Linked DNA regions of Homo sapiens: regions 2 and 3 are each linked to region 1. The links are contacts of gene promoters, found by promoter capture Hi-C in blood cells and fetal thymus (Javierre and others, 2016). All regions are on one chromosome and are shown on one strand. Each heading gives the region's core, a stretch centred on a gene start or on the middle of the fragment in contact. The rest is flanking DNA. Distances are from core to core; before and after follow the strand shown. Region 1 holds the start of PEX1 (peroxisomal biogenesis factor 1). Region 2 holds the start of IQUB (IQ motif and ubiquitin domain containing). Region 3 has its middle 5.7 kb from the start of NDUFA5.

Region 1 (4,666 bases), core at 803-3,302:
GCTTTCATAATTATCTATGGCCTCTAACCCAAGAATTCTGGGAATCTATCCTAGACAACCAGAAATAAAATGATGTTTTCTAAACAAAGATGTGTTATTTTCAACGTCTGATTAAAATATAGTTTATCACTTCTAATGCCTAAAAATTAAGTACAATCTAAATGGTCAATCATAGTAAACAATTAAATAAATTATGGCAAATTTGTGCTAGAATACTAATTAACAACTTAAAATGATGACCTTTTAACAAAATAAAACACTCATAATAACATTAAATAAAAACACCAGGACACAAAACTGTACGTGTGTATACAGGACCTCATTTATGTTAAAAATAAAGATTAGAAACAAAACTGGAAGATTTGATCCAAACTGTCAACATTAGTCACCTCTAAGTTCTGGGATTATGGGTAACTTATTTTCTTGTTAATAATTTTCCATGCTTTCCAAATTTTCTATAAAACATAAATTCTATAAATTTATATAATTCATCGAGGAATAAATGTATAGATTTATGGAATCTATAAAGTAATAAACTTATTACATTGATAATTAGAAAGTAAAGTTGACCTATTCTGCTAATATGGGCTGAACAGAAACAGCAATTTGTTCCAGGGCTAAAGACATTTACATTTCAAAAAGATATGCATGAATTAATTCTTATAAGTACTTCCCGAAGGCTCAAAATTTAAAACAAAGATCAAGACCACTAAATTCTTAAACAGTGATGAATGTAAGGTAACAACTACATCTTAGGATCAAATTAGAGTTACTGTAAGAAAGCATTCCTACTATTAAGTGCAGATTTGAAAACATGTTGAAAAATCCCATCGAAGCTGACAGAGCACTGAACCAACTTCTACCTGGAACTTGGTGACAGTGACTGATTTGTCTCTAGCCATAAAGCCCATCAAAAACCAAAAGATTGTCTACTTAGTGGTAAAAAATAATAACGACGATGATAGGAGGATTCTGCTGAACTCATGTTTTCAGTGGACCAAAAATATCTTCCCCTAGGTATGGGGAAGTAACTCAAGTGGAAAGAAGGGATGCTTGAAATTATTGCAAACTCTATTCATTGCATAGATTAGCCACTGGTGGGTACCATGCATCCAGGATTTATGAGGATTTCAAATACGCCGTCCTTTTGCCCCCATAAGTACACTCAAACTCGTGAGACCATGTGCCTCTATTTTTAATTATGAAAATATGGACGCTGTATCTCCACCAGTGGTTAGAACTGTGAAACATCCTAACCACAACGTCCAGAAGGGCGACTGATCGCAGAGCTTCAAGTGATCTTAACTACGTTATGTGTTCCTAACACACTACAGCTGTGTTCCGCGTCAGCGACGCAGGGCAGAACCATCATTGTATTAACCTTTCCCGCTCATGGGACGCGGTGCTTAGTCCCCGGGAACCGACAGGGGCTCCGCCAACAACTCTGCGTCCCGCTCTCGCGGCCCGGACGGCAGCAGCGCAGGTTAACTGGAAATGGCTGGCAAGGAAAACACCTTTTAAAATAATAAAAACAAACCACTTCTCAGGAGCTTTTCCAGCCTGGAATAAGGAATATTTATAAAAACAGTGGTAGAATATTAGGACGTTTCTAGGTTCAGTTTCACCAAGTGAAAAGACCTGGGATAAGACGAGCCCAGGGCTGCACTGGACTTGTGGGATCCAGAGACTACCCAGAAGGGCCCTGCCGTCGAGGGACCCTGATCTCTGCGCGCTTCGGCGGCGCCCGGGTGGCAGCCGGTGTCCCGCCGCGTCCCTGAGAGGCTTCGGCCTCGTCCGACCCCAGGCTGAAGATCAGGTGGCTCGGGGCCGGCAGGTTACCTGCAGCAGATGCAGCTGGGCCACGAGACGCCGCGGCAGGTGGAGGAAGCAGTCGCGAGCGTTGGTGAAGGCCACAGTCACTGCCGCCCCGCCTCCCCCAGCACCCGCCAGGCGATCGCTGCCCCACATCGTCCCGGAGCGTCGCTCTGGGTTCGCCCACCCTAGCGCCGCAAAGGACCCGGGACCCGGCAGGCCGAGGACGTCGGAGCCGGAGGAGATCGATCGGCCCCGCCCCCTGCGGCCCCGCCCCCTCTCCCCGCTGCGCATCCTGCCGTAAGCCTGTAGTGGGTGGGACAAGAAAGCTTCTGTCACCCACCGCGCCTCTCCGCCGAGCCGCTCGGGGGCGGCACCTCGTTCATCAAATCTTCGCACGCAGGAAACGATGGCCGACGCTGTCGATTCTCCAGCCAATCCTGGCACTCCTTAACTCATCCCGCTCTCTTATTGGATAAAAGGGAGCTCAGTAGGGCGGATGTTGTCCTCCCTGCGAGGATCAAAGTAGGCAAGATGGCGTCGAGCGGCGGGGAGCTAGGGAGTTTATTTGATCACCACGTCCAGAGGGCGGTATGCGACACACGGGCCAAATATCGAGAGGGACGACGGCCTCGTGCTGTGAAGGTAAAGTGATTTTGGTTTCATTCGCTCTCCTCGGTAGCTTTATGTGAGTGCTAGCGCCATATGACCAGCCTACGGAAATAAAGGCACGACAAGGCTTCCGTCAGATCTGTCTCTCGTTAGAGCTGGCGTGAAGAACCCTCGGTCAGTTACCAAAGATTCTCACGACGCCTTTGGTCAAGTATTAGAACATCAACTCCACGAGAATAGGCCTTGGTTTTAGTCATTGGATCTTCTGTGTTTACAGTACTACTTGGCACAGGTAAGCACTCAGTGAATATTCGTTGAGTGATTGTTCCCAGTGACTTCTACCGACTCAATTTCTGGAAAAAAATGTCGACTGAAGGTAGTCTGTTATATGCCTTAGGTAGCCTCTCACATGGACTGTTATTCTTTATGCAGAAGGAATGGCAGAAATTTCATTTTGTGTTCTTTTGCTGACTGGGTTGAACAGATTATTTCTTGTTTTCAAAGTTCTCTTTAAAAAAAAATAGAGGCAGATTCGTCCTAGGCTTATTTGCGAAATACGTTTAATAACTCTGCATTTCTTTCAGGTATATACAATCAATTTGGAATCTCAGTACTTATTAATACAAGGAGTTCCTGCTGTGGGAGTCATGAAGGAATTAGTTGAGCGATTCGCTTTATATGGTGCAATTGAACAGTACAATGCTCTAGATGAATACCCAGCAGAAGACTTTACTGAAGTTTATCTTATTAAATTTATGAACTTACAAAGTGCAAGGTAATGTGCAAGTTAAGAAATGACTCATTTCCTCATTTCTTCCATTCATATTTCTGTCATTTTGGCCCCAAGTTTCCCTCATTCATAACTGAATTACCCCAAAACGTAATCTAGCATATCTTCCTCCAGCCTTTTTAAAAGTTAACTTTACTGAAACACTGTATCCATCACATCATTCCCATGCTTAACAATTTAATGTCCTGTAGCTTGGTAGAGTAGAAGTTGGGTTTGGCCAGGCACGGTGGCTCACGCCTGCAATCCCAGCACTCTGGGAGACCGAGGTGGGCGGATCACGAGGTCAGGAGTTTGAGACCAGCCTGGCCAACATGGTGAAACCCCCCTCTCTACTAAAAATACAAAATTAGCTGGGTCTAGTGGCGCAGGCCTGTAATCCCAGCTACTCGGGAGGCTGAGGCAGGAGAATCGCTTGAAACCGGGAGGCAGAGGTTGCAGTGAGCCGAGATTGCGCCATTGCACTCCAGACAGGGCAACAAGAGGGAAGCTCTGCCTCAAAAAAAAAAAAAAAAAAAAAATTTGGGTTTGAAGCCTGGGCGTGGTGACTCACGCCTGTAATCCCAGCACTTTGGGAGACCGAGGCAGGCAGATCACTTGAGGTCAGGGGTTCAAGACAAGCCTGGCCAACATGATGGAAACCCCTCCTCTACTAAAAATACAAAAATTAGCCGGGTGTGGTGGTGCGGACCTGTAGTCCCAGCTACTCAGGTGGCTGAGGCATGGGAATTGCTTGAACCTGGGAGGTGGAGATTGCAGTGAGCAGAGATCATGCCACTGCCCTCCAGCCTAGATGACAGAGCAAGGCTCTGTCTCAAAAAAAAAAAAAAATTCTGGTTTGACGCCAGGCACGTGGCTCACACCTGTAATCCCAGCACTTTGGGAGGTCGAGGTAGGTGGATCACCTGAGGTCAGGAGTTCAAGACCAGTCTGGCCAACATGGTGAAACCCTCACTCTACTAAATACAAAAATTAGCCGGCTGTGTTGGTGCAAACCTTTAATCCCAGCTCCTGGGGAGGCTGAGGCACAAGTATCACTTGAACCCAGAAAGTGGAGGTTGCAGTGAGCCAAGATCATGCCATTGCACTCCAGCCTGGGCAAGAGTGAGACTGTCTCAAAAAAAAAAAAAGAAAAAGTTGGATTTGATCCCAGCACTTTGGAAGGCCAAGGTAGGCAGATTGCTTGAGCCCAGGAGTTCGAGACCAGACTGGCCAACATGGCCAGTATTTTGTATTTTGTAAAAATACAAAAATCAAGCTGGGTGTGTTGGTGCATTCCTGTAGTTCCAGCTACTTGGGAGGCCGAGGTAGGAGAATCAGTTGAGCCCAGGAGGTGGAGGTTGCAGTGAGTCTTATGGGCCACTACACTCCATCCTGGGTGATGGAGTGAGACTCTGTCTCAAAAGAAAAAAAAAGTTGGGTTTGGAGTAAGTTTTCCATTTCCACTGCTTACTA
Region 2 (4,492 bases), core at 1,745-4,244, about 31 Mb after region 1:
TCTGAAAAAAAACAAAAAACCAAAAACAAAACAACAACAAACAACAACAACAACACCAAAAAACCCTCCAACTCAAAAAATAAAAAAATTTAAAAAAGCACTTTTTAATTTTCAGGGAAAAAAAATCTAAGGCTGGTGTTCACAATGTCAATTTTATTTATGGTTTGTTCTCACTATAAGCTTCCCTGTAATCCATTTCTACCCATTTTTTACTCTGCACAAACTTTTTACCTTTTTGCTCTTTGATTTTTTTTTTTTTTTTTTTTTGAGATGGAGTTTCACTCTTTTTGCCCAGGCTGGAGTGAAGTGGCGCGATCTTGGCTTACTGCAAACTCCACCTCCCAGATTCAAGCAATTCTCCTGCCTCAGCCTCCCCAGTAGCTCAGATTATAGGCACCCCCCACCATGCCTGGCCAATTTTTGTATTTTTAGCAGAGACGGGGTTTCACCATGTTGGCCAGGCTGGTCTCAAACTCCTGACCTCAGGTGCTCCGCCCGCCTCGGCCACCCAAAATGCTGGGATTAGGCTGCTCTTTGAGAGCTTTACAAATTTATTTAATCCTTACAATGACTCTGAGGTAGATCTTCTTGTCTCTGTAGATAGGAAAACTGGAACTGTCAAGAAACTTGCTTAAGATCACAGAGTGCATTAGGTTCGGATCCATAATCAAATTGGAAAAAAAGAAAAACACAAAGAACAATTAAGACTCCAAAGCCCTAATGCATAGTCTTTGTATCCTATCACACTGTGGCATTATATATATAAAACAAAAAACTTTATAATAAAGAGAAATGTATTTTCCAAACTGTGGTTCTCCAGATAACAATGTGTCTCCGTGAGGACCATATAGTAAATACATCCCATAAAAAATGATTACCAACCAAAAGCTTGCAATTAATGTTCCAACTAAAGAAAAAGACTCAAAGTAAAAGCATCAGCTATCCTAGGTACTGCTTGGAGGCAACACCAAACACGACACATAAATCATTGTTGAAAAAAACCGTAAAACATAATGCTGGGTATTTAGTTATGTTGAATGCTAAAACTAATCTTTCCTTAACTAAAGGTCTCCGTCAAATGAAAAGTGTATTTTAGTCAAGTCAGGATTTCTGTTTTGCAAACTCAAAGTCTTATATTATTAAGCATATATTCAGGTTATTTATTTTCCTGATCATAATTTTCAAATCAAATTAAGATCAAACTCCACTGACCGTCAGGTACTGTATATTCTCATTTTGATAAATTTCAAATTAATGATAAAAATGTATTAACCTGCTGGTCAATTATACATTTTATAAATATATTTTAACCAATGACATATTATCAGTAAGTACAGATTCAACGGCAAGATTTCATTAAGAAAGTGTTTCAAGCTTCAGATGCCCAAGACTTATTTAATGTGTAAATCTTCACCACTACAATAACCACATGGTTAAACGATCACCACTTCCATTAGCAAGCTCAAGCCTAATAAGTGATCTCCTGGGACTTCAGCACAGAGGTTTTCTAATTTTATTCCTCCACTCAATGTGGCTATTCTCCCTTATCTATTCACGCTGGCAAAGCTTCTAGTTAAACTGGAATTAGTAACTATTTGATGATAATAATTAACATATACTGAGTGCTTCCGATGGCGCAGTTAATTCTTACAGTTGATAAAAGTGTGGCACAAAAAGGTTAATCAAGTAGCAGAGGCAGGATTTGAACCCAGGAATTCTGGTTCCAGGGCCCGGATTCGGAGTTACAAAGGTGAGTAAACTGAAAAGAGTCCTACTTTTATTGTCATTGCTTTCTAATAAAAATTATTTTTTTCTTCCAATTGTTTAAATCTCTTCTCATTCTCTATTTAAATATTAGGCGTTCATTTAAATATTAGGCGTCTACCTTACAGTAGGACATCTTTAAACAACGTAAAAAAGGAAAGCTTTGTCTTCACCTTCACACATACCGGTCTGCCCATAAATTTTGCAATCCAGTTCTGCCTGATTCTAAACTGCTTGTCTCTTGAAGCGAATGCCTTAAAAAGTGACACTGGGATCAGGATAGTTATCTCCATCCATCCTCCCTCAGAAAAACAACTATATTCGAGTAATTCTTGGGACCACTGAGAACAATACACAGACCTTTGGGTAACTTCAAGACAAAAAAGGCAAAAAGTCGGGGAGAAGGTGTGGGAGGATGATTTTCCCCTTCTAAACGTAAGGTATAAAAGGGCTCAGAAAGCGGAAAAAGAACCCTAAAAAGCAAGGTGCGGGACGGCGTGAGGGACCACACATTGGGCGCTCCGCCCAAGGGGTCCGGCTCCTTCTCCGCGGCGATGGCGCGTCCTTGGGCTCAGCAACCCTCCTGAAGACACCTAACCTCCTCCTTCTCCAGCCTGCCCCTCTGGGGCCTGCGAGCCCCGTCCCGGGCCGGGGGTCGGAAGCCGTGCCATGTAGGACCCCGAAAAGGCCCCCAAGCTTGGCGCGGAAGGCGCCGCCAGTGACCGGCTGCGGCTGGGGGCGGAGGCCGGCAGTTGCTCGGAGCTCCGGCGGGTCAGGAGGTGACGGGAGGAGGAGGAGGCAGGAGGAAGAAAGGGGGGTTGGGAGGTAGCGTCCGGTAGGTCTGCGCAGACAGCGCTGCCAGACCTCTGACTCCCCCAGTCCTGCCGCCGCCGATAGCCCCACAAGGCGACATGGGAAGTCCGCCGGAGCAGAGGGGAGAAAATTCAAAACGAGTCTACTCAACCTCGTCTTGGCTCCGAGGCCCCGCCATGCAGACCCCTCTAGTTTTTTACTATTAAAAATAGTGCTGCAACAAACATTTTATACATCTATCTCTGTATATATGTGTAAGTATACTGAAAATGAGTTCCCAGAATTAGAATGGACAAGTCAAAGGGCATACAGATCTTAATTTTGTTAAATTCCATCAAACTGTTTTCTATTATAGCCCCAAGAAGTTCCCCTTGACTGTTTCCTTACATCCTCATATTGTTTTATGAGTCCTAATAATTAAATATCCCTTTGTTGTGTGTTGCCCTTATATTTCCCATTGTATGTTTGATGTTGTTTTTCTCTTACTATATAAAAGTTTTAGATTGTTAGGTAGTGACATTTATCAATCTTTTTGCTTATGAGAGTTTCCAAATTTCCTGACATGCTTCGAAACACCTTCTCACAATGAAACATAAATACATAAATTCATCCATAAATGCATAAATGAGACAGATCTGTAAATATTGATAGAAAACAACTGGACACACAGTCTTAAGTGTAAAAGCCAATCACAGAAGAGTATGCACAATGTTACAGGTGTAACTACATATTTGCGTATGTCTAAAACACCTGTGGAAGGTGGCCTGGAGATGGGGAGAAATGGGTAGATGGAGGATTTTCACTCTTCATTCTTTTTACTATTCGAACTATTTTTTTATGTATTATCTATTCAAATGAAAATGTTTAAATCTTATTGTTTAAAAAGCAACCTCTATCATGTTTGCATACAAAAAAGTCTCCCTTTTCACCTACATTTCATTCCCTACCATTTAAAGCTTAACACATTTAGAATGTAGTATAATTAGTGAGGCAGGGATCCAGTATTGCCTTCTACCAAATAGATCTGTTGAATTTTTAGGTTTGTTAAGAGGCAAAGACCAAGGGTGGAGAGGAAGGAGTGAGAGTGCCAGGTGAGGAAAGTCTAAAATCTCTCGACTTAATATGAGAATGGTGGCCACGGAAGGCTAAGAGTCTCTAGTGCCAGGTGTGGGTTATACACACATCTTCTATGCAATTACCGTGACAAGCACCCAGGGTGTGAGGTGAGGTGTACCTCCTAGCTTGATGCTGCTGGTTCAAGTCCCAAATCAGAGAGGGGAAGCCAAAAAAGGAGCCGAGAAAGATGAGATGCTTCGCACGGTTTTTAAAGTAAAGTCGGAACATTCCTGACCGACTAGGCAGCCCCAGGCGCTCAGGTGGGAATCACTGCCCAGCACACAGAACCCAGAGTCCAGCGCGGCTGTCACCGGCTCTAGGCTGGATCTAAGCGTCGGACCAGGAGGCCGCAGTCAAAATCTGTTCTCCTACCTGTGTACGAAACCAAACTATTCTCGTCGAAGTGCTTTCCCAGGCTCCTAAGACGCAGCTTCCATACTCGCCGCGTTCTCAGCTGTTGGTCGTATCCTAGCAACGGCCCTGGCACCACCTCTTCCTGCCGGAGCACGGCAGGGGTGGGAAGGAGAGGAGCCAGAGGCGGGTGGGGGGGAGGAGCCAGAAGAGGGCAGCGGGGAGGGGCCGGGAAGGAGGAGCGCGGCAGGGTAGGGGGAGGAGCCAAAGACTGGGGGCGGGGCCGGGAAGGAGGAGGGCGGCAGAAGAGAAGGGGATGAGCCAGAGGCGGGGAGGTGGGGCCGGGAAGGAGGAGTGCGGCAGGAGAGAAGAGGAGTAGCCAGAGGCGGAGGGGCGGTGTCGGGAAGGAGGAGCGCGGCAGGAAATAAGGGAAGGAGCTAGAGGCGGG
Region 3 (5,005 bases), core at 500-2,999, about 31 Mb after region 1:
AGACATTTCTTATTTAATGATTTGAAGTCAATATTGGTCAGATGGCAATACTCAAGTTGATGTAGCGTTTCATCACAATTCCTATCAAAATCCCAGCTTCCTTTTTGCAGAAATTTTTCACAAAAGATTTGTCAGTAGCAGAAGGCACTGTTTGATAACACTTGTCTCACAGAAGAACTCTCAAAATTGGAATCAGTCCTCTCAATTCTGCTGCTGCTTTATCAACCAAATTTATAAAATATTATAAAGACTTTGTTGTCATTTAAACAATATTCACAGTATCTTCACCAGGAGTAGATTCCATCTCAAGAAACCACTTTCTTTGTTCATTCAAGAAGCAACTCATCATCTGATCAAGTTTTATCATGAGATTGCAGCAGTTCAGTCACATCTTCAAGCTCTACTTCTAATTCTGGTTCTCTTGCTGTTTTCCTCACATTTGCAATGGCTTTTTCCACTGATCTTCAACCCCTCAAAGTCATCCATGTGAGTTGGAATCAACTTTTGCTAAACTCCTGTTAATATTGATATTTTGACCTCCTTGCATGAATCACCAATTTTTTTTTTGAGACAGAGTCTCTATTGCCCAGGCTGGAGTGCAGTGGCATGATCTTGGCTCACTGCAACCTCTGCTGCCCCAGTTCAAGCAATTCTCCTGCCTCAGCCTCCCGAGTAGCTGGAATTACAGGCATCTGCCACCGCACCCGGCTAATTTTTGTATTCTTAGTAGAGACGGGGTTTCACCGTCTTGGCCGGGCTGGTCTTGAACTCCTGACCTCATGATCCACCCACCTCAGCCTTCCAAAGTGCTAGGATTACAAGCGTGGCCACCGCACCTGGCCCATGAATCACCAAATCTTTTTAATAGCATCTAGTGTGGTCAGTTCTTTCAAGAAGGTTTTCAATTTATGTTACCCAGATCTGTCAGAGGAATCGGTATTTATGGTAACTATAGCCTTATAAAATGTATTTTTTTAAATAAGACTTGAAAGTGGACATTACTCCTTGACTCGTGGACTGCAGAATGATGACTGCAGCATGTTGTGCGTGAAAACAATGTTAATCTCTTTGTACATCTTCATCCTCAGGGCTCTTGAGTGACCAGGTACATTTTCAATGAGCAGTAATATTTTGAAAGAAATCTTCTTTTTTCTTAGCCCAGACTTTGTTGTTCCATTTATAGAACACAGGCAGACTAGATTTAGCATCATTCTTCAGGGTCCTAGGATTTTCAGGATGGTAAGTGAGCATGGGCTTCAACAGCTGCATAAGCCTGTAACAAGAGAGTTAGCCTGTCTTTTGAAGCTTTGAAGCCAGGTGTTGACTTGTCCTCTCTAGCTTTGAAAGTCTTAGATAGCATCTTTTTCCCATAGAAGGCTGTTTCATCTACATTTTTAAAAATCTATTGTTTCCTGTGGTTATCTCCATCAGTGATCTTAGCTAGATCTTCTGGATCTTGCTGCAGCTTCTACATCAGCACTTGCTGCTTCACCTTGCACTTTTATGTTACGAAAATGGCTTCTTTCCTTAAACCTCATGAACCAATTTCTAACAGCTTCAGAGTTTTCTTCTGCAGCTTTTTTTACCTCTCTTAGGCTTCATAGTGCTGAAGAGAGTCAGGGCCTTGCTCTGGATTAGGTTTTGGCTTAAGGGAATGTTGTGGATGGCCTGGTCTATCCAGGTCACTAAAACTTTCTCCATATCAGCAATAAGGCTGTTTTTCTTTTTCTTTTCTTTCTTTCTTTCTTTTTTTTTTTTTTTTGAGTCAGAGTTTTCTCTCTGTTGCCCAGGCTGGAGTGCAGCAGCACGATCTCGCCTCACTGCAACCTTTGCCTCCCTGGTTCAAGCATTTCTCCTGCCTCAGCCTCCTGAGTAACTAGGATTACAGGCAGGCACACCACTCCCAGCTAATTTTTTTTTGTATTTTTAGTAGAGACAGGGTTTCACCATGTTGGTCAGGCTGGCCTAGAACTCCTGACCTCAGGTGATCCGCCCACCTCGGTCTCTGAATGTGCTGGGGTTACAGGTGTGAGCCACCGCGCCTGGCCTGTTTTGCCTTTTTATCATTCGTGTGTTAACAGAGTAGCACTTTTAATTTTCTTCAAGAACTTTTTCTTTGTATTCACAGCTTGGCTAACTGGTGCAAGAGGCCTACTTTTTGGCCCATCTTAGCTTTCAACATGCCTCCCTCACTAAGCTTAATCGTTTCTAACTTTTGTTTTAAAGTGAGAGATTTGTGACTCTTCCTTTCACATGAACACTTAAAGGCCATTGCAGCATTATTAACTGGCCTAATTTCAACATTGTTGTATCTCAGGGAATAGGAAGGCTAGAGCAGAAGGAGAGAGATGGGGAACAGCCAGTCGGTGGAGCAACCAGAACACAAATAACATTTAAGTTTGTTGTCTTATATGGGTGTGGTTTGTTGAACTCTAAGACACTTAATAACACTAACATCAAAGATCAGTAATTACAGATCACCATAATAGATAAGGAAGAAGTTTGAAATATTTCAAGAGTTACCAAAACGTGACACAGAAGCATGAAGTGAGTACATGCTGTTGGAAAAAATGGTGCTAATAGACTTGCTTGATACATAGTTGCCACAAACTTTAAATTTGCAAAATATCTGCGAAGTAAAACAATATAGCAAAGCACAATAACATAAAGTGTGCCTTTTATACATATACGTGGCTGTTATCACAGTATCCTAGAGCCAGTAGACCTACAGGAGGCTAAATGATGAGGGTCACAGAGCCACAGGCAGTTCTCTAAGGGTTCTAAACAGGAAGCACCAGGATTGAGATTTATGTTTAGATGCCACATCATGGGCAGTGTGAAGAAGGAGTCTGCATGTGGCAGGACTGTGAGCAGTATGACCCAATACAAACATCTATGAAAAAATGAAATAAAATCTATCAAAAAAAAGGTTGGTGAATTTGACTACATTAATATTCTATACTTCTGAATAACAAGAGACACAACTTAAATTGTAAAACAACACAGACGGGAAGAAGATATCTGCAACCCATATAGCCACCAAAAAATAGGCGATGCCTAGAATATGTAAGGAACTTTTGTAAATCAATAAAACAACAACAAGAAAAGAACACCCAAAACAGGTCTCCCTACTTTGACTTTTGCCTCCCTCTCTGGAGTACATTAAATGAGTTATTATATGTATATGCCTCACCCAGTATGTGTAATATGGCACCACCTACTTGACTTCTATTAATTTATTAGTTTACTTTTTTTATTCTCAACCCAGTAGCTAGAATAATTCTTTTAAAAAGTACTTTGCTCAAAATTCTCCCATGATTTTTTTCACTCAAGCTGTAAAAGTCAAAGTTCTTACACCTTGCAATCCACAAGGCCCTGCCCCACTTCTCAGACCTAACCTCCTGTATTAGTCAGGGTTCCCCAGAGAAAGAGAACCAGTGGGATATTTAATATTTCATTTTAATTTCATGCACACACACATATACACATATGAAATAGCCATATATATAGGAGATATATATAAAATACCCCTATATATAGGATATTTTTATATATCCTATTGTGTGTGTGTGTATATACACATACACACATACACACACATATACAGATGATCTCCAAGTTACAATGTTTTGACTTACGATTTTTTGATGTTAAGATAGGTTTATTGGGACGTAACACCATAAGTCAAGAAACATCTGGACTTAACGATTGTTTGCCTTATGATTTCTTAACTTTATGATAGTTCATTGGAGTATTAAATGGATTTTTGACTTATGATATTTTCAATTTTATGATGGGTTTATTGGTATATAGCCCCTTTGTAAGTTGAGAAGCATCTGGACACACACACACACACACACACACACACATATATATACACATACACACACAAGTACATATAAACATACACACACACATACATGTAGAGAGATTTATTATAGAAATTGGCTTATGCAATTACGGAAGTTGAAAAGTCCCACAATCTGCTGTCTGCAAGCTGATGAACTAGGAAAGCTGGTGTTGTGATTCAGTCCAAGCCCAAAAGCCTGAAAACCCACAGAGCCAATGGTATCAATCCTGGTCCCAGTCCAAGAGTAAGAGCACTGATAATCAAAGGCAGAAGAATATAGATGTCTCAGCTCAAACAGGGAGAGTGAATTCACCTTTCTTCTGTCTCTTTGTTCAAGCCTTCAAGGGATTGGATGATGGCCACCTTATTGGTGAGGGTAATCTTCTTTGCCTTATTCTATAAATTCAAATGCTAATCTTTTCTCTAAGCATCCTCAGACGTAACAGACGCACCCAGAAATGTTTTACCAGCTATCTGGCTATTTAGCTTATAATACACACACACACACACACACACACACACACACATCCACACACGAATTTAGGGAGAAACAATTTGCTTTAGGGTTCCCCAGATAACATATGTTTTTATATACCATATTTGTTCTGTTTCTCTGGGGAACCATAATACAAATTGTTTCCCCCAAAATTTATATGTTGAAGTCCTAATCCCCATTACCTCAAAATGTGACCTTCAGGCCGGGTGCGGTGGCTCACGCCTGTAATCCCAGCACTTTGGGAAGCCGAGGCAGATGGATAACTTGAGGTCACGAGTTCAAGACCAGCCCGGCCAACATGGTGAAACCCCACCTCTACTAAAAATACAAAAGTTAGCCGGGCGCAGTGGCTCACGCCTTGTAATCCCAGCACTTTGGGAGGCCAAGGCGGGTGGATTTCCTGAGGTCAGGAGTTTGAGACCAGTCTGGCCACCATGGTAAAACCCCGTCTTTACTAAAAATACAAAAAAATTAGCCAGGCGTGGTGGCACGCACCTGTAGTCCCAGCTACTCAGGAGGCTGAGACAGGGGAATTGCTTGAACCAGGGAGGTGGAGGTTGCAGTGAGCCGAGATCATGCCACTGCACTCCAGCCTGGGTGACAGAGTGAGACTCCGTCTAAAAAAAAAAAAAAGAAAAAAAAAGTGACCTTCATTGGAA

The links. The method cuts DNA at HindIII sites, captures the fragments that hold promoters and counts their contacts. A CHiCAGO score of 5 or more calls a contact.
Region 2: a contact is called between a fragment that was not itself captured here and the fragment with the promoter of PEX1 in region 1, in 1 of 17 cell types (non-activated CD4 T cells). The highest score is 8.6, in non-activated CD4 T cells.
Region 3: a fragment that was not itself captured here is called in contact with the fragment with the promoter of PEX1 in region 1 in 1 of 17 cell types (non-activated CD4 T cells); the score reaches 9.0 in non-activated CD4 T cells.

Annotation. Positions count from the first base shown.
Region 1 is chr7:92,526,468-92,531,133 of GRCh38, forward strand. It overlaps PEX1 (peroxisomal biogenesis factor 1), which reads right to left and starts at 2,053. Exons shown (of 24, transcript NM_000466.3): 1 at 1,840-2,053. The coding sequence starts at 1,968. RBM48 (RNA binding motif protein 48) reads left to right here and starts at 2,328. Exons shown (of 5, transcript NM_032120.4): 1 at 2,328-2,457; 2 at 3,009-3,199. The coding sequence starts at 2,347. RefSeq lists enhancers at 1,472-1,651, 2,252-2,631 and a silencer at 1,882-2,111. The HindIII fragment of the contact is 2,281 bases long and covers 1-2,139 here.
Region 2 is chr7:123,530,427-123,534,918 of GRCh38, forward strand. IQUB (IQ motif and ubiquitin domain containing) reads right to left here and starts at 4,169. Exons shown (of 13, transcript NM_178827.5): 1 at 4,066-4,169. LOC124901740 (a long non-coding RNA gene) reads left to right here and starts at 4,105. Exons shown (of 2, transcript XR_007060507.1): 1 at 4,105-4,492. RefSeq lists silencers at 4,236-4,465, 4,486-4,492. The HindIII fragment of the contact is 1,073 bases long and covers 2,459-3,531 here.
Region 3 is chr7:123,561,053-123,566,057 of GRCh38, forward strand. It overlaps a transcript of NDUFA5 not described here. Among named protein-coding and RNA genes, the nearest start is that of NDUFA5, 5.7 kb to the left of the region's middle. The HindIII fragment of the contact is 892 bases long and covers 1,304-2,195 here.